6 separate regions of the Homo sapiens genome follow, and regions 1, 2, 3, 4 and 6 are each linked to region 5. Evidence: promoter capture Hi-C in 16 types of primary human blood cells and fetal thymus (Javierre and others, 2016). All regions are on one chromosome and are shown on one strand. Each heading gives the region's core, a stretch centred on a gene start or on the middle of the fragment in contact. The rest is flanking DNA. Distances are from core to core; before and after follow the strand shown. Region 1 overlaps FRA10AC1 (FRA10A associated CGG repeat 1). Region 2 overlaps MYOF (myoferlin). Region 3 holds the start of FRA10AC1 (FRA10A associated CGG repeat 1). Region 4 has its middle 61 kb from the start of LGI1. Region 5 holds the start of NOC3L (NOC3 like DNA replication regulator). Region 6 overlaps PDE6C (phosphodiesterase 6C).

The links. Contacts are between HindIII fragments. The CHiCAGO score rates a contact against its expected background, and 5 or more counts as called.
Region 1: a fragment that was not itself captured here is called in contact with the fragment with the promoter of NOC3L in region 5 in 1 of 17 cell types (naive CD8 T cells); the score reaches 5.1 in naive CD8 T cells.
Region 2: a contact is called between a fragment that was not itself captured here and the fragment with the promoter of NOC3L in region 5, in 1 of 17 cell types (non-activated CD4 T cells). The highest score is 5.2, in non-activated CD4 T cells.
Region 3: the fragment with the promoter of FRA10AC1 here is called in contact with the fragment with the promoter of NOC3L in region 5 in 8 of 17 cell types (naive CD8 T cells, total CD4 T cells, naive CD4 T cells and 5 more); the score reaches 9.5 in naive CD8 T cells.
Region 4: a fragment that was not itself captured here is called in contact with the fragment with the promoter of NOC3L in region 5 in 3 of 17 cell types (megakaryocytes, M2 macrophages and M1 macrophages); the score reaches 6.6 in megakaryocytes.
Region 6: a contact is called between a fragment that was not itself captured here and the fragment with the promoter of NOC3L in region 5, in 1 of 17 cell types (non-activated CD4 T cells). The highest score is 6.0, in non-activated CD4 T cells.

Annotation. Positions count from the first base shown.
Region 1 is chr10:93,677,066-93,681,701 of GRCh38, reverse strand. It overlaps FRA10AC1 (FRA10A associated CGG repeat 1), which reads left to right. Exons shown (of 14, transcript NM_145246.5): 11 at 104-222. Among named protein-coding and RNA genes, the nearest start is that of FRA10AC1, 23 kb to the left of the region's middle. The HindIII fragment of the contact is 3,477 bases long and covers 585-4,061 here.
Region 2 is chr10:93,409,992-93,414,900 of GRCh38, reverse strand. The region is part of intron 5 of MYOF (myoferlin); the gene reads left to right. Among named protein-coding and RNA genes, the nearest start is that of MYOF, 70 kb to the left of the region's middle. The HindIII fragment of the contact is 4,532 bases long and covers 1-3,906 here.
Region 3 is chr10:93,701,164-93,705,400 of GRCh38, reverse strand. It overlaps FRA10AC1 (FRA10A associated CGG repeat 1), which reads left to right and starts at 2,809. Exons shown (of 14, transcript NM_145246.5): 1 at 2,809-3,026. RefSeq lists an enhancer at 2,521-2,820. The HindIII fragment of the contact is 26,065 bases long and covers 1-4,237 here.
Region 4 is chr10:93,816,230-93,820,742 of GRCh38, reverse strand. No RefSeq gene overlaps it. Among named protein-coding and RNA genes, the nearest start is that of LGI1, 61 kb to the right of the region's middle. The HindIII fragment of the contact is 484 bases long and covers 1,818-2,301 here.
Region 5 is chr10:94,360,348-94,365,058 of GRCh38, reverse strand. NOC3L (NOC3 like DNA replication regulator) reads left to right here and starts at 2,120. Exons shown (of 21, transcript NM_022451.11): 1 at 2,120-2,229; 2 at 3,187-3,394. The coding sequence starts at 2,221. RefSeq lists a silencer at 1,917-2,046 and an enhancer at 2,187-2,446. The HindIII fragment of the contact is 1,523 bases long and covers 1,692-3,214 here.
Region 6 is chr10:93,660,724-93,665,198 of GRCh38, reverse strand. PDE6C (phosphodiesterase 6C) reads right to left here. Exons shown (of 22, transcript NM_006204.4): 19 at 3,066-3,140; 20 at 2,556-2,639; 21 at 2,021-2,171. Among named protein-coding and RNA genes, the nearest start is that of FRA10AC1, 40 kb to the left of the region's middle. The HindIII fragment of the contact is 3,066 bases long and covers 841-3,906 here.

The sequences.
Region 1 (4,636 bases), core at 1,074-3,573, 680 kb after region 5:
AATAAGTATTTTAACTGATTTTGGTTTTTTGTTCATATGATGGTTATTTTTGAAAAGGTCAGTTGGAAAAGTTAACTTTAATTTTATATTGTTTAACACAAAGGAGAAAAGAAATCAAGTCAAAAAAAAGAAAAGATAAAACCAAAAAAGACTGTGAAGAGTCATCACATAAAAAATCCAGATTATCTTCTGCAGAAGAGGCCTCCAAGAAAAAAGATAAAGGTAAAAGGAAATTAAGATAAGGCATCTACTCACATTTGTGAGCATGAAATATAATCTGCCATATTTCATTCATCTAATTGGTGAATGCATTGAGAATTTCATTTTATGGTAGTTGAGAGGAAACTGGCTGAGAATTTAGATATGAACTTAAAGTGACTTACAGGAGTTTTAAGAACTCCTCTAAATTAATTAAGGGTTAATTTTAGTTCATTTTTGGCAGATAGTATAATATTGCCAACAGTTTTCTAATTCCTGGCTTTGTCACCTACAGACTTGTTACTTTGCATCAGTCACTGAACTGCTTTATTTTTCTTATGTGTATAGGGGTGAGGTGCATACCTGGCCTTCATACTGGTCAAGCTTATTGTGGAAACTCAAATAAGAATGTGAAAGGGACTTTGATCAGTGCCTTTAAACAGTCTATAATCTATAAATCAATATAAAATTGTAACACTGATTTTATTTATAATGGCCTGTGTGACTTTTTTTACTAGTTTATGAGTTTCTAGAAATGAGAAAGATTGTCATATATCTGTGTTCTCAGAGCCTAGCATGGTGCTGTGCACCTATACTTAGAACTGCCTGCTTTTTCTTTAGCAGTCCTTAAGCTCGCTAAGACTCAATTTCTTCATGTGTAAAATGGTCTTGATTCCTTTTAGAATTGTTCAGAAGTTGAAACGAGATAATTCATTAAGCAGTTTGCATAGTACTTGGCACATATTAGCTATTATGAAGGTTACTTCTAGTTGCTTTTTTTAGCCCATAATAAAGTAGAGTCAATCGGCTGTAATTTATAGTGAATCAGACTAATCTAGATAGGTAATTGAATTAGATTCAAGCCAATGTTAATATAATATTTGGACAGGAGAGGGCTCTCTTGCTCCAGCTATGAAGATCATTAGCTATGTTGCATGCTTAGAAGCATTTACTTCTTCTTGCACATGGTAATATATTCATTATGTAGCAGAGTTTAAATCTGTGTGCCCTTGTGATACTGTCTACTCCCATAGCTTCAAGTATATGGTGTCACCAACCTTTAGACTTCGTAAAATTGATAGATGGTGAGAGGAAGATATTGTTATTTTATTGCTTATTGAGAGATGGCATTTGTAGCAGAATGCCTTTTTTGTCTCTATCTTAATTATTTTCCACTCTAAGGTAAATTTTAACCAATAAATGTTAAAAATATGTTTTGAGTTTTAAAAACTTATTTATCCTTATATGCTAGTAAAACATTTAATATGTCACTTAAGAAATTTGTTGCCCTCATTGTATTATATGTTCATTCTTATCACAACTGTGATACCATGTTAATCACTGCGTATTCCAAATGAAAGAACTAGTCTCTACTTTATAAAATGTTACTCAGTACAATCAAAGTAGATCAGGTAGATGAATGCTCAGGTTCAGGGCTAAGGTTGGACCCTTCGTATTATGCGTACATATGCACATGATCTTCCTTATAGACATTTTTCCCTTAGTGTTCTGTCAGTAGATGACACCTATGTTGACCTAAAAACTAATATCAGAAATCTGGGGATTATCCTTGATACTTTCTTTCCCCTTATTATTTATGTTTAATTTGTCACCAAGTCCTGTGAATTTTACCCCCAGAGTATATATTTCTCAAGTTCTCTCCACCCTACTACAAACCACTATATTTTCTCTTATAGGCTACTGTTATATTCTCCTTACGGGTTCCGCCTCTGTCTTGCCATCCCACCTTCCCTCCTCTTAATCCATTCTCCATAAATCAGTGATTTCCTGTTGTTTTTAGGCTGATAAGCAAAATCCTGGACAAAGCTAAAAGGTTCTCTGTGATCCAGAACTTGTGTACTATACAAGGCTTGTTTCTTACCACTCTGTACCTCACGTTCACACTCCCCCCATGTAGCCTTTCAGTTTCTGGAAAATGTCAAGCCTCTTTCAATTTTAGGGGTTACATGGATGCTGTGTCTTCTCTTCCTAAAACTCTCAGTTCTATCCCAGCTCATCCTTCAGGTCTAAGCTCTTAAATGTCATTTCCAAGGATCCTTTCCTGATTTCATCCCCCACCTTGAATCTAAATTAGGACTCTCATTTGTAATGCTGTCATGGCTCCTGACACTTTCCATTATTACACATATGACGATGTAAAAGCCAAAGAGGCAGAGATTCTGCCTGCTTTGTTCATTGCTATATCCCCAGCACCCCACTAGCTCATGTTCAGCATAAATAATAATCAGTAAAGGACTTTGAAGATTCTTCAGGGATAGAAGACCAAAGCAAGGTGGAATTGAGACATCTCTTTCTTATGTATTCTCTATTTAGAATGCCTTTGAAAGCAAAGTCTCTAGAAATATAGCTTTTTTACCCCCAACTTCTATGGTATATAACAGAAAATAACAAAATTTTAGCAAACTTTTAGGAAAACCATGTGGAACTCTTTAATATCTTATCTGGGATCATCTAGAATTAGCTTTATCATTGATTTGATTCTTTCTTGCCAGACCACCTTAATTTGGACCAGACTTGAAGAGTAATTAATAAACGCTTAACATCTCAGCTGCGTTTGGACTGTTGACAACTTCCTTTAATTTTATTTCTATCTTTCTGGCCTCTCTTTAGCTAATGCTTTTTTTTTTTTGTAAGACAGGGTCTTGTTCTGTCACCCAGGCCCCAGGCTGGAGTGCTGGAATACAGTGGCATGATCTTGGCTCACTGCAGCAGGCTTAACCTCGGAGGCCCATGTGATCCTCCTTTCTCAGCCTCCCAGGTAACTGGGACTACAGGCCTGCACTACCATACTCAGCTAATTTTGTTGTTGTTGTTGTTGCAGAGACAGGGTCTTGCTGTTTCCCAGACTGGTCTCAAACTCCTGGCCTCAAGCAATTCTCTCACCTTGGCCCCCCAAAGTGCTGGGATTACCAGCATGAGTCATCACACCCGACCTCCTTAGCTGCTTTTAACTGAAGTTCCTTCTCAGTCTTACATTTAGCTGTTAGAGTTCCTCGGGGCTCTTACCTAGATTTCTCTAGTTTCTCTCTGTACTCCCAGTGTAATCCCATCAACTCTCATAGCTTTAGGTTACCGTCTTAGAAAATGTTAAATAAGTAATAGATGGATGAACTAGATAGCTGAATGAATGGATAGAGAGAAAAAATAAGAAAGATCAGTAGCTGACTTTAAGGACCAGTCTGCTTTGGCAGGTATGAGGAGAACAAGATATTTAGGTAGACTGTCTTGGCAAAATGTTCAGAATCTTATCTGTCTCACCATCACCCCTTTCCCAAAAGCTACGTCATCCTTCAGGTTTCTGCTTAGCTCAATTCCTTGGAAAGGCCCTTCCTGACACCCTTCTCCTCACTTCTCCAAATAAGATTATGTTCCTCTTACATATTCCAATAATACCTGTCACTTCTCCTTTAGAAATACATAGTATCCTTGGAATAAATTGTTTATTTTCTGTAAGGGAAGGGACTGTGTGACATGTTTACTTCGTTATCTCTAATTCCTAATAGTGCTTGCTCCCATAGGAGGCATTCAATAAGTGTAGGTGAGTGAATCAGTGAATTCAACCACATTTTCTGAAAGTTGAAAGGAACTTCAGAGATCAGTCCTGGAATCATGACTGAAAGGATATTCTTTAATTTTGCTTTTCAAAGTAAAGTCCTCTGGGCAGCATTTAGGAACTTGTTAGCAACTCACAATCTCAGACCCTTCCAGATCTACTAACAAGTTCCCAGGGCGAATCATATGCACTAAAGTTTGAGAGAGGCACTGTTGTATATTATGTGATTGTTCTGCATTGGTTCAACATTTCCAGGGAAAAGGAACCCACTACTATCAAAAATAAAGCTTTACATTTTCAGGTAGTTGTATTTGCTAGCACGTTTCTCTTAACATTCAGCCAAAATCTACAGCTTCCTCCCTTTGGTTCTAATTATGTTCTTGGGCCTCCAAATTAAGCCTAACGTCTTTTTTACCTATGGACCTTTGGATATTGGGAAGCAGGTATCATGTTCCTCATTAGAGGATGACAGGAAAGAATACATTTCCTGTTTCCTTACCCTGTAGTTCTTATACTCTTCATCTGGTCTAAAGGGGCCAAAAACTTTGGGTTACGAGGCCTCCTATCCAGGAACATTGGAGGAATTGTTACTGTCCATCTGTCACCTGCCCTTTTTTACTTTATCATCCTTCAGAAATATTTTCCCTGAGGTCTTATTGCAGGAAGCTCTGTATCGTGGTGATTTTTTTTTTAAATTACACTGACCGATCTTCAGTGCCTTTCTCTCTCTCTTTCTCTCACTGGATGACCATTGTAGAGCTGAGAATTTTTGTTTTATGACATAATTGTGTTGTGTTCTTATCAGTTTCTGAGAACTAATACTTACCTGCATATATGACTTTAGAAAAGATACTGTAAAAAGCA
Region 2 (4,909 bases), core at 391-2,890, 950 kb after region 5:
GTGGTGGCAGGTGCCTGTAATCCCAGCTACTCAGGAGGCTGAGGTAGGAGAATCACTTGAACCTGGGAAGCAGAGGCTGCAGTGAGCTGAAATTGTACCACTACACTCCAGCCTGGATGACACAGTGAGACTCCACCTCAAAAAAACAAACAAACAAACAAACAAAAACACAAAACCACAAAAAACAACAAAAAAGATGGCCTCTCTAGTGGACTGAATAGTGGCCCTCTAAAATGCATGTCTATATGGAACCTCAGAATATGACCTTATTTGGAAACAGGGTCTTTGCAGATGTAATTAGTTAAGATAAAGTCACACTAAATTCAGTGACTGTAGTTTCTTGTTTGTTTGTTTTGTTTTTTGAGACAGAGGCTCTCTCTGATGCCCAGGCTGGAGTGCAGGGGCATGATCTCAGCTCACTGCAACCTCTGCCTTCCAGGTTCAAGCGATTCTCCTGCCTCAGCCTCCCAAGTAGCTGGGACCACAGGTGCACGCCACCACACCTGGCTAATTTTTTAATATTTTTAGTAGAAACGGGGCTTTGCCATGTTGACCAGGCTGGTCTTGAACTCCTGGCCTCAGGTGATCCACCCGCCTCAGCCTCCCAAAGTGCTGGGTTTACAGGTGTGAGCCGCCAAACCTGGCCCACTTGTTCTTATGAGAAGACGGGAGGACACAGAAGGAGAAAGGCTGTGTGACCACACAGAGGCAGAGACTGGAGTTATGCAGCCACAGGCAGGGCATGCTCAGGATTGCCGGGAGCCACTGGCTAGGAAGAGACAGGAAGGATTTTTCCCTCGAGGCTTCAGAGAGAGAACGTCTCTGCCAACATCTTGATTTTATACTTGTAAGGTTTGGAACTGTCGGGGAATACATTTCTTTCTTTTCTTTTCTTTTTCTTACCTTTCTTTTTCTTTCCTTGCTCTGTCACCCAGGACAGAGTGCAAGGGCATGATCATGGCTCACTGCAGCCTCGACCTCCTGGGCTCAGATGGTCCTCCCATCTTAGCCTCCCGAATAGCTCAGACTACAGGTGTGCACCACCACACCCGGCTAGTTTTTAAATTTTTTTTGTAGAGATGGGGGGTCTCCCTATGTTGCCCAGGCTGGTCTCAAACTCTTGGGCTCAAGCGATCCTCCTGCTTCGGCCTCCCAAAGTACTGGGATTAGAGGTGTGAGCCCCTGCGCCTAGCCAGAGAATACATTTCTATTGTTTTAAGTCACCCAGTTTGTGGGACTTCCTGCGACAGCCTTCAGAAGCTAATACAACCAGCAGCTTCCTGTTCAGTGGGTGATTCCTGACTTGGTGTGGCCCTCTGTGGTTGTGAAAGAGTTGCTCTTTGTAGATCCACTTGGCTGTGGATCACATTCAGGCCTGGGTCTCACGAACAGGGCCTGCCAGCACAACTGCTAGCATTTCACTCATGACACAGCTTGCACATCAGGGTGTGTTTAACAGTGCCATAGGGGCCCCCTCATTCTTTGTGGAACCCATAGCATTCTTTGTGGAGCCCGTACCATTGTTTAATCCTCTGCAGCTTCCTGCCACATAAAGGGGAGGTTTCCTGCTTGAATATTCTTCTGCTGCAAGGCACAGAGGCTGGCTGTCACCATGGCTTAGGCTGGTTTCCTCTGACCCATCCCTTTAGCCTAAAGTCTGAATAGCAGAAGACGTTCTTTGTTATCTGCAGGCTGATTCTAGAGCATCCACTGAGAATGTAATAAGTACTTGTCCAGAGTCCAGCATTGCAAAGGGGTATGATTGACCCCGACTTTTTCTCCTGCTTACTGCCATAAACAATCACCAGCCTAAAATGCTGTAATTATGGCAAGGAGGAAGTACAAATCACCAGCCTAAAATGCTATAATTATGGCAAGGAGGAAGTACCACTTAGGCCCAGGATGATGGAAGGAAGTTCGTCTTCGCTGCTTGGAGGAACCCAACAGCTGTCAGCCCCAGCCATTGCTCGGTCCAGGACAGGTTTACCGAGGGGAAGCGCCTGGCCCCCAGTGCTTCCCCGAGGCTGGTGCCAAGGTTGGGAGGAGCACCCCTTCAGCCATCTGGGTGTTCTTTCCTGAGAGTTGTTCAGTAGTTTTTCCAAATGTGAAGGCACATTTGTGCCTGGGATCCTGTTCCCCTTCCCATTTGTTTACTCATTCCACATTTATCAAGCACTTTCTATATACTTTGTGTAATGAGTTCTGTAAGGCATGGGGCAGAAACAAAGAAGCAAAGGCAAGCTCCTTGCTTCTGAAATGCCTGGGAGTAGGGGAAGCCTATGGGTTGACAAGCAGGTGCAAGACTATGTGGTGAGGACTAGAAAGAACAATGTGTGGCGGGTAGGAGAGAGCGGGACTAACTCCATCTGGAAGAGGTGGGGAGGGCATGTTGGAAGACAGTAAGTTTCATCTGAAACTTAAGAAGGAGAGGAACTTACCTGGTAGAGAGTAGGATGAAGAAGATTCCAAGAGCTTGGATCCAGGTGCCCTAAGAGAGACAGCAGGTAAGCCCTTCTTTTGAAGTCTCTTCAAGAATAGGCAAGAGGAGGTCCAGATCATCTTGCAGAGGACAAAGATTCCTTATCTTTGACTTCCATGAGGTTTTCCCAGTAGCCTGAAAAAGATGTTGAGGTACTAGGAGCATAACATGTCCTTCACCTACAGCCTGGTTTTAAACCCAGTTTTATACCAGAGAGGCAGTGTGAAAACTTGGTCCTGGTTTTAGCTCAGCTTCTAATAACTTAACCACAGGCAAGTTGCCTTAGCTTTCTGGACCTCAGTTTTTCTGTCTGTAAAATGGGGTGAAGGGTAGGTTGGATCAAGGATCTCTAAGGTCCCTTCTAGGACAACATTCTGTGGGTCCATGGCTACTTGAAGGAAGTGTGAAGTGAGGATCTACAGAGTGTTGAGTCAAAGGATCAGAGGACAGAGTAGGGAGTCACACTCAGTGAGTAGGAGACAAAAACAGGGGCCCACAGAAGAACCTGAAAAAGCAGATCGGGGGAGGAGAGCTGCAATGATCTAAAAATATGTATATGAGCACTGGTGTCCAAGGCTGTGGAAGATCCAATATGGAGATACAGAAAAGGGCACGGAGCTTGGCAAAGAGAGGTGATTGACTTTTGAAGAACAGAAGCCAGGCTAGGATGGGCGAAGCATGAATGAATGGATGATGAGGAGCAGGGCCCACCCTGGGCTAAATTGCAAAGCAGTGCATGTGGAGGCCCCCTTTTCCCTTGTGGCTGCCTCTTCCTCACTTTGGGACCCCTGCCTGCTGTGCTGCCCATGGACTGCTCCAGTGCCCCATCCCCACACCCCCCATAGCTGGTTCCAGGAAGTGTCCTGTGCTCCAGAAGAAGCCCCTTCCAATTGCAGTGGTCTGAATGGTTGTGTCCCTCCACAATTCACACATTGAAATCCTAACCCTGAACGTGATGATATTAGGCAGTGAGGCCTTTAGGGAGGTGATTAGGTCACGGGGCCAGAGCCCTCATGCATGGGATTAGTGCCGTGATCAAAATGGGCTCAAGGGAGCTCCTTTGCTTCTTCCATCATGGGAGGCAGAGAAGGCTCCAACTGCAAACCAAGAAGTGGGCCCTCACCAGACACTGAATCCGCCGGTGCCTTGATCTTGGACTTCCCCACCTCCAGAACTGTGAGAAATAAATTTCTGTTTTCTAAAAGCCACCCAGGTTGTGGTATTTTGTTATAGCAGCCCAAGCAGGTGAAGACACCAACCAAAACTGATTACACAGCAAAACTAAAAAATAAACAGTTAATTTATTGGGTGCTTCTGTATGCCAGATACTGTGCTAAAGGCTTCGCCTATAGATAATTACACCTTTACAGTAACCCTGTGGTAAATACTATTATTTTCCCCTCTTTACAAATGAAGAAACTGAAGCTTAGAGAAATTAAGAAACTTACTCAGACTCACATAGCTCGAAAGTGGAGGGTGGGGAGTGGATTGAGCCTAGGCCACGTGGCTTCAGAGCCCAAGATTTCAAGAGCTATGCTACATAGTAATCTGATGAAACTCATTCATACCAGGATGTGAATGACTGACAGGTGACTGTCCTTGGAAATTAAATCTCTTTCATAATCTTGCATCGTAGAGAAGGAGTTTCAGAATCCAAAAGCAGGGTTCTAGACAGGGTGGCTTGTCTTCTAGGCTCTCTTAGATTATATTGTACAGATTACCAGAAGTTCTAACTCTTTGTGTATTAAGAAAAGAAAAGCTAAAGTTTGTCAGCGAGTTTCAAAGAGCTCGTGAATAAAAGAAAGAGGAGAGGTAGTAGGCAGAGTTGATTTTTGGTTTTTGGTTTTGTAGGGAGAGAAAGATCTGTGTCTACTTGAAGGCAGAGGAAAAGCTGCAATAGAGACGGAACCCCCAGAGGTACACAAGAGAGAGGAGACATTTGGGGAGCCTGAAAATAATCAGGAGGTAGTAGGATCTGCAAATATTCAGGAGGTAGCAGGATCTAATGCATGGCAGAGGGTTGAGATTTTCACTCTGCTGAGCAGGGTAAACCTTTTCCTGAGTGCAGAGGGAAGGTAGAGGGATAAAGGAGGGGACACGTGTGTGTTAAAGTGACAAACCAGGAGGAGGAAGGAAGAGCAAGATGATCACCTTGGTGCTTGGCAAGAAAATGAGGAGAGTTTCTCTTCTGCCATTAGGGTGGAAAGAGCAGTTGTGAATTAGGAGGCTCAAGCAGGAAACAGTACAAATAGATCACGAGCAGATCTCTAGAGAGAAGATCTGCAGTGGGAGGGATGGAGTTGAAGCTTGTCATTGCAAGACTGCAGTGTTCCGTGATGTTTCTTCCTTTTTCCATCCTAACACTAATGAGAACTCAGCAATCCCTGGCTGGGTCCAACGGTGCCATCTCCTCTCATTGTCCCTGTGATC
Region 3 (4,237 bases), core at 1,560-4,059, 660 kb after region 5:
AGAGAAGTGTCAGCATCATATTATAAAAAGAACATGGAAAATGCAATCTTCTCAAAGACACACAGTATTAGAAGAATGCATATTCAGCCAGGCGCAGTGGCTCACCCCTGTAATCCCAGCACTTTAGGAGGCCAAGGCGGGATCACTTGAGGTCAGGAGTTCGAGACCAGCCTGGCCAACATGGTGAAACCCTGCCTCTACTAAAAATACAAAAATTAGCCAGGCATGGTGGCTCACACCTGTAGTCCCAGCTACTGGGAAGGCTGAAGCAGGAGAATGGCTTGAACCCGGGAGGTGGAGGTTGAGCTGAGATGGCACCACTATACTTCAGCCTGGGTGATGAAGTGAGACCCTGTCTCAAAAAAAAAAAAAAGAAAAGAAAAGAAAGAATGCACATTTGTTGGGCGCGGTGGCTTACGCCTGTAAGTCCAGCACTTTGGGAGACCAAGGTGGGTGGATCACCTGAGGTCAGGAGTTCGAGACCAGCCTGACCAACATGGTGAAACCCCATCTCTAGTAAAAAAATACAAAAATTAGCCGGGCGTAGTGTGCGCCTCTAGTCCCAGCTACTCGGGAGGCTGAGACAGGAGAATTGCTCGAACCCAGGAGGCAGGGGTTGGAGTGAGCTGAGATCACGCCACTACACTCCAGCCTGGGTGACAGAGTGAGACTCGGTCTTGAATAAAAAAGAATGCACAGTCATAGTTTATATCAGAATTATTACTTGGTATTATCACCACCATCATCACCCAACTTCCCTCATCCTGACCACATACTTAATATAGTATTTTGTTGCTTTGAGTTACATAGCATTGGTGCACATTTAAATTTTCATATCCATTGAAATAACATATTTTATAAATTAGGAACAACAGGTTCATGCATGTACTAGACACTTGGTATATGATAGAATATATTGTTGTAGTTATTCCACACATTGTCTGTCTTACTAGTCAACCTTCAAGGATAAGGAGTTGCTGTTACATACCTGTAACCCTGATGTCTAGGGCAGTGTCCTGCCCAGAGTAGGCACTGAATAAATGTTTGTGTTTTTTATTGTTGTTGAGCTATAATTGTTAACTTGAGATTTCCTAAGCAGGTGGGTTTTCTATCCTGTATTATTTCTAGTTCAGATCATGCAATCTATGCCTAATATATATTTTCTATTTACTCTTTTTCAGTAACTGCTGTCTCAAAGTAAAAAATGGAAATCTTTGCCTGAATGGACTGGTAGCAACAGATCTGAAATTCTTAGAAATGTTGGAACCAGAAGCTACTTCCCACACAATCCATGAAGTGGGGGAGAGAGAGACAGAGAGAGAGAGAGAAAAGAGAGAAAGAGAGAGAGAGAAACTGGGTCTTATAGAGAGACAGACACAAGTACTACCCAGTTCTCGACCCTCACCAGGTTTGTGGCTTTAGGTTCTGTGCCTCTCTTCCTTATGTGTAAAATGAGGCTAATAACACAGCAGCACAGGGTTGTTGGAAGAGTAAAATGAAGCAACAAACAAGAAGATGCTAGGGATGGTAGAAAAATGCTAATAAATGTCAAATATGGATAGAAAGGAAATTGGATATGAGGTATAGGTCTGTTTAGTTTTATTAACAATAAAATAATTATATATTTAATATATTTACCAAAAAAGAAACTGCTTGACAAAATAATTCCATATACTATAACGTCAAATTGTAAGGCTTCCTATTGCTTTCACTTTTTTTAGTAAAAGTTTTTATTGAAGTATAATCTGATTGCATTTTGGAATAAGTTAATTTACAATAATTTAATTTATCTTATAGCCTTTTAAGATCACATTCAGTGCAATGGATAAAGCAGAATGTATCTATAATTTATTGTCAGGGTTAGAGACTTGAACTGATAAGGATATCGTTATCTACTGTTTAGGGCAAAAGATGTAAAATGACTGTGCATTAAGTGCCAAGGTTTTCTCTAAAAAGGGCCCACTGTAAACGCCAGAAGCGTGCCAGTTCAATTCAACAAATATTTAATTAGCACTTGTGATTTCCAAGGCACCGTTTTGGGTACTGAGGAGGAAGCAAAAAATGAATAGCTGCTAATGCCAGCGAGAGACAAGACATGAACCAAACAACTAGAGTGGAAAGAGTGGGGCGTCGTGATGTAGAAAACGCAAAGCACAGGAAGAACCTAGTGGCGCTTAAAATAATCCAACTTTTCCTGCCTTTTTTCTTCTTCTTTTTAAGATTCTATTTTGGATCCCTTTTCGCATGTGCCAGGTCGCTTGTCGGCAGAGAATCCTCAACCCTGAGAAATCTCTCCTCCTATTCTTTCTTTCCTCACAAATTCGATGAGCTCTTCTGCCATCAGCACTGCTTTTGGAATGGTATCTATTGTGTGGGTGGCGAAACGATGGAGAGATATTTTTGTTCTAATTATGAGAACTGTTTTACTGGGGGAAGGAGGGAGAGGCTGATCTGAAGCGCTGATGAGCTGCTCTGAGAGGATCCTCCGAGGAGGCGTTACTAAGGTTACTAGAGAGAGGACGGCAGGTGATAGGCACGGTAAAACAAAATATATTTTCAAATGAGAGGCGTGGGCTAAGCAGCAAGCAGTGCCAGCGGTACTAGATGCCGGATTCCCTAGAGGGGAAAGGAAGGAGGCCCAGGGAAAAACTGGGAGCCGCGACTTGGCGAAAGCTGGAAGCCTCTTCGTCCCTTTCCGGGCCGTTTCTCCCGCTGCCCTTGTTTCCCGGAGCTGTTCTGGCTGTAGCACAAGGTCGGCGCACTCGGGGGACGGTGCCATTTAGATGTAACACGTGGCCGTGTCGGACCGGAAGTGGTGCCCAGTCGGGACCCGTAGGGAGAGGCGGGTTGCGGGCGGCGGCGGCGGCGGCGGCGGCGGTGGTGGTTGTGGCGAGGCTGTGCGGCAGGGCGCACGGGACCTGTGCTGCAGCGGCTCTCTCAGGCCGTGGGTCGTCGCTGCAGCTGCCGGGAAAGAAGGAAACGACGACTCCGGGGGCGAACTTGGCACACAGGGAGGAAGGGAAAGGGTGTGTGAGGAGGGCTGTGGGTATATTTGGCATCAGGGAGAAGGACCTCAAAACTTGTTTTTCATATAGTACTAGCTGATCGTCGGGTTTTTTTTTGTTTTGGTTTGGTTTTTTTTTTTTTGGATGACAGATTCTGGAGACACCTGGCATCTCCGTTTTTGAGTTTCTCCCCGCTCTTGTCAGTTGATTCGTAGGCCTGAAGTGAGTGAGAGCTTTTTAGTTCAACCAGTGAGTTAAGATAGGTATGGGTCGGATGGAGCGGCCAGCGAATAAAGAAATGGGAGAGTGGGAGCAAGAATAGGAAGTCGTGTCCTGGGGCGAGGGAAAAGATGATGATGATGATGTAACATTTACTGGGTTTCACTGTACAAGACACCGTTAAAACCCTTTAGATGAGGCAACTCTTTTAATCTCCATTCGTATGAGGTCAGCCATCTTACTAGCCTCTTTTTATAAATGAGGACACTGAGGCTTGGAGAGGTTAAGGAACAGGCCCAAAGAAAGACAAATGGAAAGTGCAGAGCCAAGCAGTGAAATCTAGTAGGCTGATCCTAGAATATATCTCTAAACACACTACAGCTGTCCCCCATCAAGATGTAAAGAACGTGAGGACATAGGACAAAGAGTGAGAGGACAATATGGCTTGAACAGATGTGGTAAGACAGCTGGAGTTGACCTAAAAAAGGGTGTAAAATCCAGGTGTGTAAGGCAATAACAGATGTAAGGGAGGGTAGAGTTGGAACTCGGGCTTTCAAACCTTCATCTCCAACCTTAACTAGCATCTTCCTATCTAGGATTTTAGTGGGGCAGAGAAGAGAGGTATATACCCACACACCTATGTTTGAAAATGGAATTACAGACTTTAAAGGTTATTTAAAGATTTAAACAACTTAAAGATTATTTCATGTAGCTATCTTATTTAATAGATGAAGTCCAGGGAGATGAAATGACTTATTCAAGGTAGCCAGGACTAGAAACATGTCGTTTACCCTAGATCCAATGCAATGAAGTTTAGAGAGTTCTTTCCTCTTTTTCCAGCTGCACTTGCTGTCGTTATATTAGTTTTAACAATTTGATATATCATTTAACCTGGACTGTTCCTTCCAGCCATGTAAATTAGTTATGTATGACATCAAATAGTCCATCCTTCCTTCTTAGTGTGTGTTCCAAATTCAGTGCAAAGCTGGAACTAGGAGCTTCTTCCAATACAA
Region 4 (4,513 bases), core at 810-3,309, 540 kb after region 5:
GTGTGGCCAGAGGTCACAAGATTTATGACTTCCCTAATTGCTCATATAGATAATATCACTATTGTAGAACTTAAGATTGGTCTTTTGAGATGTTTTTCAGACTGATGCCACCCAGACTCATGACTCATAACTCAACTATTTCTGTGCCCTCCTCTCCCACCAAGAGGTGGACTCAGTGCACAGATGGTGACCATTTTCCACACCCCTATGATTGCATTGCCAACCAATCAGCAGCACCCATTCTCTATCCCCTGCCCACCAAACTATCCTTGAAAAACCCTAACCCGTGAGCCTTTGGGGAGACTGATTTGAGTACTAACTCTATTTCCCCTGTGGCCAGCCTCACATCAATTAAACTACTGCAATACCATGGTCTCGGTGAATTGGTTTTGTCTGTGCAGAGGATGGGACGAACTCATCAGGCGATTACAGAGTTGTTGTAAAGATTATTTTAAGCTGAAGACATTTGAGACTCAACAGATGCAGAAAAAGACTTTCTTGGAGCTTTCCTAATCTGATGAAACACAGCAACTTTGGGAAATGAGACTACCATAAATCCCTTCTCCTAGGGAGAGTCCTAGCTGTGAAGAAGAGAGAAAGGCCACTAGCACCTATGTAAATAAAATGTCACAAACTTTCTTATCTCCCATTTATTCTCATAAAAATCCAATTGTCTTTCCTAAGGAAACCTATTTGTTCTTCTCATAGGAGCCTTTTCTCCTTTTTCCTTCCCCTACTATGTTAGGTACATAAGCCCTGAATTCTAACAGTGAGCACAATCACTGAGTGCATCACTGAGCACTCCTGTGTGTATGCACATTGCATGCTTAAATCAACTCTTCTTTTCTCTTGTCAATCTATCTTTTGATGGTTTAGATTCGTAGGCCCCCAGGCACTGACTCTGTGAAGGTAAAGTGTTTCCTCTCCAGCACCAGGAATAGCACTGATATGGTTTGGCTCCATGTCTCACCCAAATCTTATGTCAAATTGCAATCCTCACATGTCAGGGGAGGAGACTGGTGGGAGGTGATTGGATCACGGAGGTGGATTTCCCCCTTGCTGTTCTTGTGATAACGAATGAGTTCTCATGAGATCCGATGGTTTAAAAGTGTGTGGCACTTTCCCCCTCATTCTGTCTCTCCTTCTACTCTGCCTTGCTAAGATATGCTTCTCCTTCACCTTCTGCCATGATTGTAAGTTTCCTGAGGCCCCCTGGCCATGTGAAACTGTAGAGCCTGTTGAACCGTGAGTCAATTAAACTCCTTTTCTTCATAAATAACCAAGTCTCAAATAGTTCTTTCTAGCAGTGTGAGAATGGACTAATATAGGACTCTGCTTTGGACACTGACCCTGAGCAAGTGGTGTATTTCTGCCACTGTTCTAGATGTACGGATGAAGTTCTGTCATCCACTGTTCTTGGGTAGCTCCCCACTACCAAGGGCTACATTCAGTCCTTCCTCTGGACTCCAGTCTTGTTTGCCTAGTTCCAGTCTCACTGTTTGTCCCTGTGGTTTTATACTTTGCTTATTGTTTAAGTTTTACTCCTTTTTTGAGCCAGTGACATTTTCCTCTTGCATTTTTAGAGAAGCATAGAAATATGTATTTAATATCTAACCTGTCATTCCTATGGACTTGGAGCACAGGAAAGAGGATTATGAATGCATTTGCTCTGATATCTTTATTAAGAAGTTTTCAGGCCTTTTAAAAGTGAGGATGCCAGTATTTATCTGAACTCAAAACAATGGTTCTTGATCCAGTAATTCTGTTTCTGGAACTCTTCCTAGAGGAAGTAATCCAAAAAATGGGGGAAAAAAGCTTCATACACAAAGATGTTCATGGCTGTATTACTTTCTATGGTAAAGATCTGAATATATTATAAATATTTCCCAACAATAAATAAATATTAATATTTCCATTTAATATAATATTATGCAGCTACTAAAATAATACTTTACAAAGAATATATGATATAAAAATGCTTATTATAATACAAGGGAGAAAATTTGTAGCCATTTTTTGTTGTTTTATACAAGCATGCATTAAAAAATAGCATAGAAAGACTAATAAAAAGAAACCACATCAGTGCTAAAAACGGTTGTCTCTTAGTTTTTCTTTATTTTCAAAATTGTGTGTTATGTATATGAATCGCTTTTATAATAGGAAGATACCTAAATAAATATATTAACAAAAAGCTGAATGATAGAAGGACATTTTAAGACAGGCATCTTTCATGATTATAGAGAATGGATTGGCATACTACAAAACGATTGCTTCTAAAACACACAAACAGCAGAGGAAGCTTTTGTGTTAGAAGATTATTGGTTGTGATTAGATGGGTTTTCAGCATCAGGGCACAAGAAGCACCAGTTTGGTGACATCGAGCAAGGAGGCAGGGCTACAAGGGACTGGCAGATGGCAAGAACCTACACTCTGCAGGCAAATGGCCAGGCGCCAGGATCAGATGAGGGAAAGGGCAAGCTAGGAGACTGCGCCAGGGGAGCCAGTGGTAGGGGCCGGACAGGAGCCAACACTTATTGAGGGGTTGCTGAGTTTGTGCCAGGCACTGTTTTGGATCCTGAAATACAGGTGGAGAAGACTGACACAGTTCTTGCCTTCATGAAACTTACAGTCCATGGCAGGGGTTTCAAGCTGTTTTTTTTTTTTTGGAAAGGGCTAGACAGTAAGCATCTTAGGTTTTGTGAAGCTATACAATCTGTGTTACAATTACTCAGTTCTGCCACTGTAGCTTAGTAAAAGCAGCCACAGACAACAGTAAATGGATGGGTGTGGCTAGGTACCAATGAAACTTTGTTTATAAAAATAAGTGGTGGCTAGACTTGGATGGTGGCATAGTTTGCCACCTCCTGATCTAAGTGGAAGACAGACAGTAAACAAGTAAACAAGTTAATATGATAATTATGGTTTGTGATCATTGTCAGGAAGGAAATCAAAAGGGTGATCTAGTAGTGAATTAGTAATACATTACATTTTACCTTTTACCGAGATGTGACATCCATACAATAAGGTGCACAAATTCCAGGATATAGAATATTCTTAACACCTTAGAACTGGGTCCTGAAGCATTAGAATGACCTCTCCATCCAAAGAACTGGGCATGGGGAAGCATTCCAGGCAGAAGGGAAAACAAGTACAAGAGTCTGAGGCAGAAAAAGGTTTCGCATCTTCCATGAACAGAAAGGGTTTTCATGGGGCTAGATAGCAGTGAGCAGGGAATAGGGTGGGATGCTGTGGGTAGAGGAAAACCCCACAGACTTTAGAGGCCATTGTGGACATTCTGTATCTTATTCTAAATGTTATAGGAGAGCAATGGAGGGTTTTAAGCAGAATGGCATGATCTGATTGAAGTTTCAAGATGATAAGTGAACTGCTGTCTTCTTTCTGGACTTTTCTGTAGTAGTGTTCAGTTAGGACGGGGAACTGGGGCTAGGGGCTGGGGGCTGGGAGCATCCAGCCTCAGCTGGAGCTGAGATGGGCTGTGTGAGGAAAATCCATTAAAGAACACCATTACCATACACCACATACTGAACCATAAACATCGATTTATTTTGTAAAACACCTCTTTGAAATATTACTGTAACTAGATTTATTGGCACCTGTTTCCGAGCACTTAATTAGGAGATACTTTAAGAACTGTGCATCAAAGACAAGAACCTGAAGAAAATGCAAGCAGGGGGTTAAGAGGTGAGGTGAGCTGGCAGGTACAGATCTAGCAGCAGCAAGTCATGCTGCCGAGGTGGAGGCTCACGGGAGGCAGGAGGAGGGGGTCAGAATATATCTTTAGTGTCCAGGAAGAGACCCCGGTGGTTTTTGGAACCAGAGAGTTGAGGTTTGCTTTCATTGGTGTGGCTTGGTTCTGATTTAATGTTTTGAAGACATATTGTAGGGAATAGTTACAAAGTGTCCCTAGGATGGTGAAAAGAGGCGGGTGGTGAGGGGGCAAGAAGGAATGGAGTTTTGTAAATGGAGAATTAGAGGAAATGATAATTTGGGGCCAAGAGCCTTCCTCCTTCTCTCCCTACCTGCCTCTCTTCTTTTCTCCTTCCTTCCCTTTCATTTATTTACTTACTTATTTATTTATTTACTATCTACCTTGGTTGAATGTCATCTCCTTTCTTTTTTAAAAATGCAGAGGCGAGAGACCAAGAGGAAGAAATTGAATCAGTATGTACTGCCTTACTAAGGTTGTCATGAAGCAAGCGCAAACTAAAATATTGTTCATGTTTGTCTGACATTCAAATTTAACAGAGCACCCTGTATTTTTATGTGCTAAATCTGGCCATCCGTCTATGCCTGTGGCTTGGATTTTGCCATTTCAGCGTCAGCGAGTGAAACCTCCTCCTAATTACTCCCTGCTAATTGGAACCAGCTGCCACCAGGAGGCAGCCGGGCGCTGCTTCCACCCAAGATGAGGACAGTGTCTGAGATTCTAGGGAGCTCTGAGTCTACCTTCCTCTCGAACTCTCCTGACACCCATTTCCACTTCTAGCCACAA
Region 5 (4,711 bases), core at 871-3,370:
AAAAAGAAAATACTAGCACAGGATTGGGCTATGACAATAGAGAAGAGAAAGTGGAGACGCTAAAAGAATACTTTTTTCTGGAAGTAGGGACAAGTAGGAAAAGAGGCACATAAAAGAGCAATTAAAGGGAGATAAGTTTATTAGAACAAATCTTAAAAATGGAAGAGATTTGAATATGTTTATAAGCTGAGGGGAAGGATCTATTAGAGAGGGAAAGAACACAGGAAAGAAGGGATAATTAATGATACAAGAATCTGATGAAGCTGGGAGGAGTTGGTTTTGAACTGGAATGGGGATGCCTCATCCTTGGAGAGACTGGAAGGAAGGCTAAAAGGATGGGAGTGACTGTAGATATGTTGATATGCTTGGGAGGGAATTCAGGCACTTGGGAAGAGCACAGGCTGATGTTTTCCACTTGTTTGATGAAGTAATACTCCAGCGGGACAGGCTCTGCTGTTTCTGACACTGTGTGGAAGGAGACAGAGCAAGGAAGAAGTTGGAAGGGAGGTTGAAAGAAGAGTGCCAGATGGACCTCTTGGTCTTTGTGGTGGGATCAGGAAATTGGTACTTTTTTCCCTCAGTCTCTCTAAGAGCAACACTATTCAAGGGGCTCAGAACCCTTTGAGCCGCACTACTGGGTTTTCCCACCTGCTCAGGACTGCGAGGCCAGACTCTGTGTCAGGGCCATGCTCAAAAATCATAGACTCAAAAAAACCCACAAAAAACTTGAAGTGGAATGCTTAAATTTATTGAGAAAAAAAAGTCTTTGAGAGACAAGCACTTTGATACTCTTATTCTTGCAATCCATAAAACTTCCTGTAAAAATGAACGACTTTAGGCGGGGCGCGGTGGCTCATGCCTGTTATCCCAGCACTTTGGGAGGCCAAGGTGGGCGAATCACGAGGTCAGGAGATCGAGACCATCCTGGCTAACACGGTGAAACCCCGTCTCTACTAAAAATACAAAAAAAATTAGCTGGGCGTGGTGGCGGGCGCCTGTAGTTCCAGTTACTCGGGAGGCTGAGGCAGGAGAATGGCGTGAACCCAGAAGGCAGAGCTTGCAATGAGCCCAGATTGCGCCACTGCACTCCAGCCTGGGCGCCAGAGCAAGACTCCGTCTCAAAAAACAAAAACAAAAAACGACTTTGGTGAAATTACTAAGCAGACAGAATTTACCCAAAGTTGTAAGATACTGAAATGCAGATACAGTTTTTTATTTTTATTTTTATTTTTTAGACAGTCTTGCTCTGTCACCCAGGCTGGAGTGCAGTGGTGTGATCTCGACTCACTGCAACCTCTGCCTCCTGGGTTCAAGCGATTCTCCTGCCTCAGCCTCCCGAGTAGCTAGGATTACAGGCGCACGCCACCATGTCTGGCTGATTTTTGTATTTTTAGTAGAGACAGGGTTTCACCATGTTGGCCAGGCTGGTCTCGAACTCCTGGAACTCAGGTGATCCACCCGCCTCTGCCTCCCTAAGTGCTGGGATTACAAGCGTGAACCACCGCACCCAGCCATGGATACAGTTCTTTATCAGCTAATGGTTAAAAATTAAAGCAAAAAAAAAATGCAAAATAAAACACTAAGAATCACAGACTTTTAAGTGACCAAGGCTGATGAGAAATCATTCGCCATGCTACAAACACGGCCAGAATGTCCGTCGAGGGGCAGGCATTACACACAAAAAATAAGCTTCTTTCTGCCCTCAGGACTGTATGGAGGAAAAAGACTACGAAAATCAGTATCTATAACAGCATGAGATAAGCAACGTGAGGAGAGGCACAAAATGCAATGAGGTGACCGAAAAAACCAAGTCCTCTCATTCTGAGAGGAGGAGCCCGATTTCCCCAAGGTTTTAAAAGAAATAAATAGGGCGAGAGTCAAAGAATCATACTCAGATAACCTTGCAAAATGCGCCCCTCCCGCCCGGCTTCCCGCCTTTGGCACCGACGCCCTCGGGGCTTCCCTCGTGCCAGTCCGCGCGCGCACGCCGGGGGGCAACCGGTCCAGGGCCGCGAGACAGTCACCGCGAGAGGGCGCGAGCCCGAACCTGTCTACGGAAGTCCCGCCCTCACTTCCGGCGGCGGAGGATTGGGAGGGACTGAAGGCCGTTTCCGGCTCTGGTAGTGTAGGGACTTCGGCACGTGTGTCATTCCCCGGGATTTCTGTAGTAACCCTGCTTCTGGTGAACTTGTCTGGCCGGCATTCATTTAAGGCCTAAGGATGAAGGCGGTAAGTGTCCTCAAAAGCCCGGTCGCCGCGGCCTAGGGCCCCTTCGGGTGATAGAGTCACTGCCTGAGTTAGCTTTTAGGCAGGTTTTCACCCGTGTCTAGGGGGCGGTGGTTTAGACTGGGGGCTTTCCATTCCTTACACCGAGCTCATCCTTGGTTACCCACTGTGTGCGCGCACCACTTCAGAGTATCACGAAGAGACAGGCACGGAGTTTTGCATGCGTGGGATTTCATACTTTGAAGGAATTTTTCAAGACCGTCTTTCGAACTCGTTTTTCACAAATGAGAAGCAGGGTCCTACCCTCAGCGAGTTTATAATGTGAGTCACGGTACCCATGAAGGGTAAAGAGATAGAAAAGCAAGTGATTTGTCCTGGTTCTCCCAGAAAATAAGAGGTAGTCCTGGGGTTCAGGACTAACTTTGGGATTTCTGAATGAGTCACCAGCAAGAGAAGTGGAATCCAAAGATCCGAATTCAGTTTTGCCCTCCTTAGTTTATGGGTCTTTTGGCAGCTTCATCAGTAATGTGAGGATAACAGCAGTCAGTACTCAACTAGGCTGTTAGAGGTGATTTGTTGGAGCACTTTGTAAGTAATAAAATCGTAGATAAATGTAAGTTTTATTAAAGACAGCCAGCATTTTGCTTTGAATGTGTTAAACTACAGGTGTGTTAAACTAGCCTTGAATAGCCACTTACCACTACTAGATCAGTGGTTCTTAACCTGTTTGGGGATCGTAGAACCCTTTGAATTGCTGTGAATTGGGATTGAATAACTGATGCTGTAGCGCTCTTCTGTAGGATTAAAGCCATCGTTTGGTTTTAGCTTTTATATGCAAGTCTGTGGCTGTGGGACATTGAAATTGTGGAATTGGTCTAATGAAATTTGTAATCAGTTCTCTTTAACCTGATTTAAAAAATAAGTTTCTGGGTATGCAGTATTCTTTCTGTTATTTTCTAGAGAAGAAATAAAAAACAGATCCCAAGCTTTCGCAAGTTAATAAAAACTAGTAAAGTCAAACTTGAAAACAAGCTAAAAAATAAGCAGTTTAAACAACAAAGCACTCTCAAGAAGTACCGAAAAGAACAGAGGAAACTAAGGCAAGCTGTGAAAGATGCTGTGTCTAAGAAACCCATTCCATTGGAGAACCCAAAGGAAAAGCGACCAGGTAATTGTGAAAACATCATGTGCTCTGGTTTCCATTGATTTATTCTGAAGTGTTCTTCATGGAAATAACTTTGCTTTCTAGTAATCGCTTTTCTTGTTCTCAGATCTTCCTAGAGTGGGTAAGGATAGTAGTCCTATAGGACTGCTATAAAGCATATATGCTTTATCACAGTCAGTATGAGAAAACATTTCAATACAGTATTCATTCAAGCTTCTGCTTTTAGTTTGTCTGGAAGGCAGATCTGAAGATGCACTACTTGGGAAAACAAACTGAAAGTACTCCGTTACATAAATATTGGGCAGTGTGCCAGTGCTGCCACTTTGCCATTCACCAGCAGTTAGGTAAGGTAAGAACATTGCTTGTCTCTGGTTCATTCTTCACAGTATTGCCAAGGTACACTTCTAAACTTCTGACTTTCTTTTCATGTGGAAACTTGGGGTGAAATTGAGTTGTAATTGTCATGGTTATTTTGTAAAACTATCTAAAAATTATTAAGTACTCAAAACTTGTAAGGAATATGACTATTTTGAGTCAGGCTAGTTCTACAACTTTGCTGGTACTTTTAGGGTATTCTTATTTGACTATATCAGATTATTAGACAACTATTCAGTCTTCTCAGGTCCATTTTTTAAAAATTATTATTATTATTTTAAATAGACAGGGTCTTGTTCTGTCACCCAGGCTGGAGTGCAGTGTGCAAAAATAGCCCACTACAGCCTTGACCTCCTGGGCTCAGGCAGTCCTCCTGCTTCAGCCTCCAAAAGTGCTGGAATTGCAAGGGTGAGCCACAGCACCCAGCTAAAGTTTTTTTTTTTTCTAATTTTGTGGGTACATAGTAGGTGTATATATTTATGGGATACATGAGGTACTTTGATACAGGCATACAATGCATAATAATCACATCAGAGTAAATGTGGTATCCATCACCTCAAGCATTTATCTTTGTGTTACGAACAATCCAGTTATACTTTTTTAGTTATTTTAAAACATAAAATAAATTATTGTTGACTATAGTCATCCTATCTATCAAATACTAGATCTTTTTCTAAGTGTATTTTTGTACCCATTAACCATCCCTACTCCTATCTCCTCCAACTGCCTTTCCCAGCCAGTGGTAACCATCATTCTACTCTCTTCATGAGTTCAGTTGTTTTAATTTTTAGCTACCACAAATAAGTGAGAACATGTGAAATTTGTCTTTCTGTGCCTAGCTTGTTTAACTTAGCATAATGGCCTTTAGTTTCATCCATGTTGTTGCACACAGGATCTCATTCTTTTTTGTGGCTGAATAATACTACATTGTGTACATGTACCATA
Region 6 (4,475 bases), core at 1,124-3,623, 700 kb after region 5:
AGAGTTGGTCCATTCAAAAAATAAAATCTGGGTTAGGTGCAGTGGCTCCTGCCTGTAATCCCAGCACTTTGGGAGGCTGAGGCGGGTGGATCCCTTGAGATTAGGAGTGCAAGACCAGCCTGGTCAATATGGTGAAACCCTGTCTCTACTAAAAATATAAAAATTAGCTGAGTGTGGTGGCATGTGCCTGTAATCCCAGCTACTCAGGAGGCTGAGGTGGGAGAATCGCTTGAATCTGGGAGGCACAGGTTGCAATGAACTGAGATCATGCCATTGCACTCCAGCCTGGGCGACAGAGTGAGTGAGACTCCGTCTCAAAAAAATAAATTAAATAAATAAAAAACAGAATCTGATCAATGGTTGGCCAGTTAACATCTTAGTTTCTCACTGAGACAATGCAGTCTGGAAATCTGAGCTTGATGCACAAAGCTCCATGCCTGGTGATAGAAAATAATGATCTTAGTCCACAAAGAATTCTCTATGTAGTAGCAAAAAAACTCAGAAGTAAATTTTTGTGCAAATAAAATACAGATCCATATCCAATGTCACTTAAAGGACCTGATCATCTCTTCATAATAAAGTTGAGATAAAGGTTAAATCTAATAGTACTAAGAAATACCCTCACTTTTCACTTGCTTGGTAAAAATCACTTATTGTTTTGAAATGCAAATCATATCTTACCTTAAATCTCTCAAATGACCCATGAACATTTTTAGCCCACCTTCAAGGCAATACAGTATCTGGCAGCTACCTGCACTACCAGCTTCATATGTACTTCGCACTCTTTACTCTCTAGACTCCAGCTATATCAGCTTAAAAATTTTTCAATTGCACCAAGCTTATTCCTACTCCAAGCCTTTGTACATATTTTCTTACTCTTCCTCCCCAATGCCTGCTTTCTGTGGTTAGCGTAAGCATTCTTCAGGAAAGCCTTCTCCATGGCCCATGTGCACACTAGTGCCTTCTTCGAGATCGTTAATTGTGCATTGGTTCACAATGTTTAGTTCCCCCACCAAATGGTAAATTGTTCAAGATAAAGGATCCCATCTTTCCCCAGGGCCTGCCTAACACCGGGCTTTATACAGAGAAGACATCTGATAAATACATAAGTGAATGGATATCAAGGAGTCAAAAACTCCTGCTTTTATTCTGAAGGACATCCTTAACTTTGTTAAGAAAAATATTTTCTCCTATGAATTATTTAAAATTTCACTAAATGCAATAGAGCCACCTAAAAGGAACATGTCAGGGCCTTTCCACATAGAGATGATTTCTTTGTTAAGCAATAACAATTGCTTACAAAACCTTCAGAGTGATAAACTTTCAAGACAGAAATTAGCATTCCACTTTCAAAATGATGTTTGGGCCATCTGATGAACTAATAGTTAATCCTAAGCATTTTAAGAATCCAAAAACAACATTAAACTTGACAAAGTGACTTTAGGAATAGAAATTTCATGCCAGAAAAAAAATGGCACAGGAATCTCATGCCAGAAAAACATCTCCCAATGAGACATTTGGGAGACCGGCAATTTCAGCCTTACTCTACATGTAGGGCTTCCTTAAGCTGAAGATCTGTAAAACCACCTCATTACATGGAGAAGAATATTAAACTCAGCGAGGTTAAGCAAGCTGCCCAAGGTCTCACAGCTAATGCATAATGTTGGGACAAAAACTTTTTTCTCACCTAACTCTAATCCCCCAGATTCTGTAGTTTACATATTATCCCTAAGCACCCAGTGTTCTGCAGAGGAGCCACCTTCTAGCAAGATGAAGAAGCCTAGCTCCAACCTCTACTTCAACTGGACCGGTCAATTCGATCTGGAGTTATACATAAGATGTTGTCTGTGGCAGGGCCAGGGGGACCTGAAAACCACTAATCGGCCTGTTAAAATGATCAGTCTGCACCAGTAAAGCAGGTTTTCTGTTTGTGGTGACTCTTTATGGCTTTGTCACATGCCATTAAGCTCAGCCTAGCTTCTGGCTACATTACAGGGAGCAAAAACAGAGCCCATCTAACCTTTTTCGGCTCCTCCTTCTTGCTTTTTTGCCTCCTCTTCAATGACCTTCATCTTTGCATCATACTCATCAGCTAGTGATTTCCATTCTACTCTGTTATTCTGAAGACCACTCAGCATAGGTGTGATTTCTTTGTGAAACCGTGAGAACTCCTAAAAGGAATTTTAGGTCAGAAACTACATAAATCATACAGTTAATTTTCAGGATCTTTCATATGCAGAGAGTGAGCTGTAAGGAATTGTTACAGCACTCAGAGCTGCTAGGATAAGTTTAACCACGGGCCTATGAAGTTTGGGAAAGAGACACGTGCTGTCTTTACTGCCTGCCTAAGGAAGTGTTCAGTTCGCTCACATCTGAGTTCCCTCCTTTTATTCCAGCCCTGAATGAGATTAGGGTAAAACCTCAAACTGCTTTGGAGAAACAGTGATACCCCAATGGCTTTCCGTATGGGTGACTTCTAAATTTTGGTGACAGTTTGAAAGAAAATTTCTCATCCAAATGTTTATGTATTTAATTCAAATAATTTGCTTACTTACCTTATATACAAAAGTACAAACAAAATCAATAAATCCAACTTGAAGTTTAGGTAATTCATCTCTTTTGTTTCTGTCCATCATAGGCTAGAAAGAGAAATAAATCCTTTAAGACAGGTTTCTAAGATGTATGAACAAAACAGACTGATTTGTCCTGATAACTTTTTTTTTTTTTTTTTTTTTTTTGAGGCAGAGTCTCACTCTGTCTCCAGTCTGGGTGCAGTGCCACAATCTCGGCTCACTGCAGCCTTCGCCTTCTGAGTTTAAGTGATTCTCCTGTCTCAGCCTCCCGAGTGGCTGGGACTACAGGCATGCACCACCATGACCAGCTAATTTTTGTATTTTTAGTAGAAACGGGGTTACACCATGTTGGTCAGGATGGTCTCGATCTTTTGACCTCGTGATCTGCCCACCTCAGCCTCCCAAAGTGCTGGGATTACAGGTGTGAGCCACCGCGCCCGGCCTGTCCTGATAACTTTTAATAAGTAATACATTTTTATGTCAAGGTCTTACAATGGGTTGTTGCTGCAACACTGTTCTCTCCAGATCTCCTTGTTCCCAAAATTCATTTGCAACCATAAGTGCTACCTGCAAATGAGAAAGGCTTGGTTCACTAAATCCACTTATGAATAGAGAACTTGCATTTTATTAGTACAAGTGACATTTAAGGATCGAGTTTACAGTCAATGTTTGAGGTGCTATCAAACCGTATGCTCTTAACTTTTAAAAAGAGGTCATTTACAGATTATATTGAAATGCGAAAGGGGAGCTTTTTCTTCCTACTTCAGTGTTCTAGGCTTATTCTAGGAGTATCTATCTCCCATTTACGATTGCCACCACTTCTCACCAACGAAAAGGAGAAATAGGAGGATTAAATATTATGCTTCAAGTTCTAACACTTCGCCGGTTGTTCTTTGTCCTGTCTATCTGTTAGCATCTAGCATATGTCTGTGAATGCACATGTGACATACACCCATTAGTATGTAGCTTTACCTAATTACAGTGTGAGGATATTCCAGCATTAATTTATATCACTAAAAAAAAACATTTATCAAGTTCATTGAACACCTGCTAGCTGCCTTTACATTGGCATGAGCCAGGCTTGCCAAGAGGAATAAGGGGTGATCTTTTTCTTTAAAATGTTCAGAGTCTAGCGAAGACAGTCATGTATACAGTGTGGTAAGTGCTGTAACAATAATAGTGTAAGTGCTATGGGTCAGGGAGAAGGGAGTAAAGATAAGTTTCATGAAGGAAGGAGGTGGCATTTATGTTGTATTGTGAAGAACAAGAGTAATTTTCCAGGAAAAGAGGAGGGGAAGAATATTTGCCGAGATAAAATGGAACGTACAAAGCTTCTGTGAGTGCAGGCTTAGAGTGTGAAGCAATGACATGGGAGAAGGTGATGGGAATTGATGCTGGGAGTGTGAGTTGAGGACAGGCAGTGACAGGCCATGTAAATTTTGCCAGGAAGCTTGAATTTGATTCTCTAGGCCAGTGCTGTTTACTCTTGGAGTCTAGGGTTCCCCTGAAGTGCTCTAGGGCCCAAGAAGGTGGAGACCAAGAGAGATGAAAGCTAAAGTAGCTTTGCTTTTTTCTCTTTTATAAAGTGATCTTTGGGCAAGTTTTGTTGGGAGAAAATAGACTTTACTTCTTTGGGAAAGAAGTTGGAAACCTCTGGCAATGGGGAGTATGAGCCTTTTAAGGAGTAGAATGGCTGAGTTGAGCTCTGTGTAGAGACATCCTGGCAGCAAGTCAGAGGATGACTTGTGGAGTTGATGTGAGCATCTATTAGGAGGCTGCTACCATAGTTCTGATAAAAGTCAGAACTGAGGTACTAGCGAGGCTGATATAAATGATTTTGAAATGAGGGAGATAAGCTCAAGCAGGACCCCAGGTTTCTAGCTTGGGTGACCTCATCGATAA